Linked DNA regions of Homo sapiens: region 2 is linked to region 1. The links are contacts of gene promoters, found by promoter capture Hi-C in blood cells and fetal thymus (Javierre and others, 2016). All regions are on one chromosome and are shown on one strand. The core of a region is centred on a gene start or on the middle of the fragment in contact, and the rest is flanking DNA. Distances in the headings are between cores, read along the strand shown. Region 1 holds the start of TMEM109 (transmembrane protein 109). Region 2 overlaps LOC105369322 (a long non-coding RNA gene).

Region 1 (2,700 bases), core at 57-2,556:
TTTCGGATGCATAGCCAGCAGCTCAGGGAAAAGTCTAAGCAAAGCTTCAAAAGTGCAGCAGTGTACAAAGGACCCCTGACTTCCGTCCCAGGCTCAAGTGTGCCACGGACTAGAAGCTACTACCTTACGCCTGTTACTTAACCTGCCTGAGTTGCAGTCTCCTCAAACGTAAAAGGGAGTGAACCCAGGTGAAGAGTTGCTGTAAGGAGTTAAGATATTTCTGCAGCAAGCGCTTTGTAAACTAAACATCTATAGAAATGTTGCAGCACACACATTACCACTGACTATATATCGTAGCATAATTTAGCAGTTTATCAACCTGCCTTCCCCAGTAGACCGAGCGACTCCCGGTTAGACTTGACATGTTGGAATCCCCAGCGCCTAGTAGGAAAGATGACTAATAAATGTTTATTAAATGAATATTAGCAACCTGCCAAGAAACCGTGAGGGTCGAACGAGAAAGCCATGGAGAGGTGAGGAGGGAGGTTATTTTAATAGTAGATCCAAATATACAGCAGCCACACGAGAAGCACAGCTGAGTCTAAAGGAAGGTCCTAAACAAGGCGAAGCCGCCACTGCAGAGAATGAAGTCAGCGCCCTGGCAGGTTGGGGGCAGCTCCCACTAAACCCCTGACAGCTGCTGCCCAGCAACTGTTTGGGGGCAGGGCGACGGCAAAGGGGCAGCTTCCCTGCCGCTCCGCGCCCTAACCGGGGCGCAGCCTCCCGGAGACAGGGTGTCAGTGGCATGTGCTATTTCGAACGGCGCGTCCCCTGCCAAGCGCTGAGGGGTAGCGTCGCTGGCAAGGAACGTGGCGCGACCCATGAGTTTGGGGCCCCCCGAAGGGCTCGAGCCGAGGCTGCAGGAGGCTGGGCCGTGGGTCGGGGTTCGGGGGCTCGGGCTTGGCGCTGGCCTGGTCCCCACGCCCGGGAGCCGCTCCACCTCTGCCGGACCTCGGAACCTCGCCGCAACCCTCTTCTCCCCGGAAACGTGCGCCTCCCGGGTTGCCTGGAAACGACGCCCCCGGTTGCATAGCAACGGGGATCCGGGTCCCCGGTTTGTTTCGCACGCTGGGCGCGCGGACCCCTCCCCACTCGGACTCTCCAGGCCTCGCGGCTCCGCCTGGTGCCGCCTGCAGCGGCTGCTGTCTCCCCTTCCCGTGCGCTGCCCCACATTCCGACCTCGGCCCGCTCTCACCTTTCTCAGGCCACTGCTATCCTTCACGTGCGACTTCGCTGAAACGCGCCACCAAACCCGCGCCTCAACTCGGGGCGCTGGTTTACCTTCTCCGCATGCGCAAGGCGGGATGAGCTCGGAGACTAGCCGGCCTTCCTCACAATCGAAGCCTGTGCCGGGAGCGCATGCGCCCCGCTTTATCTATTGCGTTTCTTTTTCCCCCCACAAGCATTCCCACCGAGAGAAGAATGGGATCGGAAGTTCCAGCAGGGAACGGAAGTCTCTGGCTGGAAAGGGGAAATAAGTGACTATATCTGGGCTGTAGAGTGGGTAAACTGGATCTTTGAAATCGGAGTGGAAGCTAATCCTCCTCTTGCCACCACTCGGCATTTTGGGTCATGTAGTTCTAGAGCTACAAATGTTCCCTGGGGCATTGTGGGCAATGTAGTTCTAACCGAGCCGCTAACGAGCACCTAGTCTTCCCATACACTTTTCGCGCTAAAAAGGCACAAAAGAGAAAGATATTAAAGGAGCAATTAAAAGCACACTGCTCTAGGAAAACGAATGCGCTCCCCCAGAGAGAAAATTCATACCTGAATACTGTAGACGGCTCCCAAATGTTAGCTCAGAATTTCAGAGAAAGAGAGGAACCAACTCTCACTCTCCTTTTTCTGCCACAAAGGCAGTGCATAGGGACAGGAGGCAGATAAATGCTAGGTAGAAAAGAGCGGGTCCCTGGTGAAACCCCACCCTCAAGCCAAAAAGCCTGAAACCATGGCCCAAAGTGAGAACTTCTATCCATGTTTTTCCAGTTGAATGTTGCCTTTTCCTAAGCCACCCATGGCTCTGCCCTGCCTCATCCTGTGCCTAGAAAGACCCCAGACTCATCTGGCAGAGAGGAGAAGCAGCTGGATGAGGGGACGACCATGGCTGGATGTCAGAGAGAAGCAGCTTGTCTTCAGAGGGACAGCTTAAGGCGTAACTTCTGAGACGAATCTGGCTGGAGATAGCTGGACTTCAAGGGAAGACTACATACCGGCCTGTCCCACCCCCCTCTTTTCAGCTCACCTTCCCTCTGAAATCCACTTTGATCAGCAATAAAATCCCAGGCATTTGTCCTTTAATTTGTTCGTGCAGCTTTATTTTTCTTGGACGCTGGACAAGAGCTCGGGAGCCACGAGTGCGGATACAAAAGCTGTCACGCTGGCCCTCTGCCCTTGCTGGTGGAGGGCAACCGCGGGCCCACGGAGCTGTTAACACTTAAGCTGTCCACGGACGACAGAGCCAAAAGAACACTGTAACATGCCCTCTGGGGCTTCAGGAGCCTCAGGCACTCTGCCTGGACACTGCCCCGGGGCCTGCACGGAGTTCGCTCCTGCCGGTGTCCAAAAGCGCACGCTCTGGCTCCTGCACCCACTCACCTGCACGCTCCCTCCTATGAGGGGTGGAACGCGGTGAATCTTGAGTGAGTGGAGTGTGATCCCACTGGTGCTGAAAAACGGCTGGCTTGTTCCAGCGCTTGTGCA
Region 2 (2,786 bases), core at 98-2,597, 86 kb after region 1:
CCTGGCCGCATTCATGAAAATATTTTTATTTAACAGCTTCTCACTTAGCAGCAGGGTTTCCAGTAACAAATCCATTAAGTGGGGGAACAGGTGGATACTTGTCCATCCACACATACAGACGTGAGACACCTAGGGTCCCTGCTGTGCACACACACGGACAAGATATGCAACTTTAGTCACTAAATCCTGGTGGATGTGACCCAAGCCACATGTCAACTTTTTGTTGACAGCAAAACAGCGACATTGAGGGATGTTTCTTAGACAGAAAGAGCAGACCCATCTCCATGCTGGGGTGTGTATGAGGATGGGGGTAGTGACCTCTGGGGCTGGGTGTTACAAAGGGAAGGCCAACCCTGCAGCCAGGAGAAGGGGAAGATCGCAGAGCCCCAGAGGTCAGATGCTGGGAGGAGCTCAGCTCCCAGGATCAGCAGATGCCTTGAGTGCAGGCTGTGGCTGGGGGCTGTGGGGCCTGGTGGGTGGATCCTGGGAGTGGCTGCTGTGGCCGTGGGAAGTTCCTGAGCTGGGTTCAGGTACTGGAGTCGGGAGAAGAAGGAAGGGCCAAGGCCACTCGCCTTTAGTCAGCCCAGAAGCAGCCCATGTGACCCTGTGATCCTTTTAGGTTTTCCTTCTGTGCTTTCTCTGGCGATCCAGGCTTTCCTCTCTGCCCACAGCCCTCCACAGACCACGTGGTGGTAGCCTGAGCCCCCAGACCTTGTGCTTTGGGCTGAGTCCTTCTTGTAGCTCTGGTCTTCCCTGAGGAGAAGGTTGCCCGGGAGTCGTACCTGGATTCTGGGGATGGATGTGATCTCAGCCAGGTCACCTTAGTTCTCTGGGCCTCAGTTTCCTCATCTGTGACACGTGGTCAGTCTCTTCCCTGCCCCTTCAGGCCTGTCATGAGGGTCGGGGGAAGGAGCTTGTGGAAGCCCCTTGATGGAGGGAGCTGCTGTAACCACCGTCTCCCAGCGCATGTAAGGCTATAGTTGTCAGCCAGGATCCAGAAGCCTCACCGCTGCCCTTCCTTCCTGCAGCATCGGCTGCCACCACCAGAATCTGGCGGCACCATGCGGCACTTGTCCTAGTCAGTTCTACCTTGGTGCTGAGCTATAAGCTTTTGTAAACATCTTCTTCCCTAGCCACCTCCCTGTTCTCACATGTCCTTCAAGACAGCATCTCCCCAGTGTAGACCAAGTGGGGCTCAGCACGGCCATGGTACAGATGGTTTAGGATGGCAGGAGGGGTTCTGCCTGCCACTCCCCACACAGCCCTCTTGTTGTCCCTCCTCCCTCGGCTCCCCTGTCCAGGCTCTGGGGATCGAGTGAGGGCCTGCCTGTCCTGCAGAGACCTTGCCAACCCACTCACCAGCTGGGTGTAGCAGAAGGTGGCATGGAAGCCCAGGAAGGTAGACAAGAAGGCGATGCCTAGTGCCAGGATGGTGAAGAACAGCAGCAGCACCGAGAGACTCTTCCAGGGCACCTGCAAAACCAGGGTGCAAAGCCTGCAAAAACTGGGCAGTTTTACAGGCCAGCCAGTCCCGGAATCAGTCTGCAGATTCTGACCAAGGAGATGGATAAAAGAAGGGAAGCTTTCTAGAAGGGGAGTGACCTGTCATCTAGTGAGCACCTGTTACGTGCTTATTTTAATCTTAGTTGCCTTATTAGATAGCTACTCTGATTAGCCCCATTTCACAGAGGATGAAACAGAGGTTCAGAAAAATTGAGGTACTTGTCCAAAGCCACACAGCTGGTATGTGAAAGCTGGGATTCAGACCCATCCAATTCCAAGACCCATGTGGTCAACCATTCAGACTGACACCCATCAGCAAAAAAGTACAGAAAGGTCAAGTAAGAAAATACATGGAAAAGCATGTATTTGGCAGTAAGCTACTGGCGGCTGCCCTGAGAGGGCTTGAGGTCTGTAGAGACGGGAGAGGAGGAGATGGAGTCCGTAGGAGATTGTTGCTGTGAAAGGGAAGAGAGGGGAGACCACAGTCAGAGAGGGACACGGGGTCTCCGGGACTTGAGTTTCTGGACCAGAGGAGAGGGAGAGGCATGGATGGAGGAGAGAGCAGCTAGGGAAGGTGAACACAGTGGACTAGGGTCGTGGGGGCCTAGGAGGAATGATTTGTCCTCTACTGATAAGGAAAGCACAGAGAGGGGCTGGGTGAAGATCAGTTTCACGTGAGGTCACGGGCAGGAAGTTGAGTCTTGGGGCCGTTCAGGGACCCCAGGCTACAGGGGAAGGTCGGGGATTCTGGGGCAGCTGGGTCACTGAAGTGGTCAAAGTGTGGGCAGCAGTGGGCAGTGTGTCCCTCGCCCCTGCATGGTGTGTCAGACCCACCTGAAGAGAGTGTTTCTCCTTTCCTCTCTTTCCCTAGGATGAGAGCAGAGGAAACTCCTCCCCCAGTATTCCCAGCCCCATTTTTGCCACGTCCAGGTCCCTGGTAGCAATCTCATGACATAATCACATGTCTTTGAAAAGATGTGACCTCAATGGCCACAGCCAGAAGGCAGGACTCACTGATAAATCTTAGGTATTATTATGCTGGCAGTCCTCCTAATGCACCCTTGACCTCTATGCTCTTACAGGGGAACGTCCTTGGTAGGAGGCAAGCAGCTGGAATATCTTCCTCCAAGCAAATGATTATTATTTTTTTTAAGAAACAGGGGCTCACTCTGTTACCCAGGCTGGAGTGCAGTGGCATGATTATAACTCACCGCAGCCTTGAACTCATGGGCTCAAGCAATCCTCCCACTTCAGCCTTCCAAGTAGCTGGGACTACAGGCCTG

Evidence for each region. Contacts are between HindIII fragments. The CHiCAGO score rates a contact against its expected background, and 5 or more counts as called.
Region 2: a fragment that was not itself captured here is called in contact with the fragment with the promoter of TMEM109 in region 1 in 1 of 17 cell types (fetal thymus); the score reaches 5.3 in fetal thymus.

The regions. Positions count from the first base shown.
Region 1 is chr11:60,912,764-60,915,463 of GRCh38, reverse strand. TMEM109 (transmembrane protein 109) reads right to left here and starts at 1,306. Exons shown (of 4, transcript NM_024092.3): 1 at 1,196-1,306. It overlaps TMEM109-DT (TMEM109 divergent transcript), which reads left to right and starts at 1,401. Exons shown (of 2, transcript NR_186356.1): 1 at 1,401-1,504; 2 at 1,987-2,298. RefSeq lists enhancers at 508-677, 72-1,070, 2,069-2,700 and a silencer at 858-1,017. The HindIII fragment of the contact is 3,992 bases long and covers 47-2,700 here.
Region 2 is chr11:60,826,558-60,829,343 of GRCh38, reverse strand. The region is part of intron 2 of LOC105369322 (a long non-coding RNA gene); the gene reads left to right. Among named protein-coding and RNA genes, the nearest start is that of CCDC86, 14 kb to the left of the region's middle. The HindIII fragment of the contact is 474 bases long and covers 1,111-1,584 here.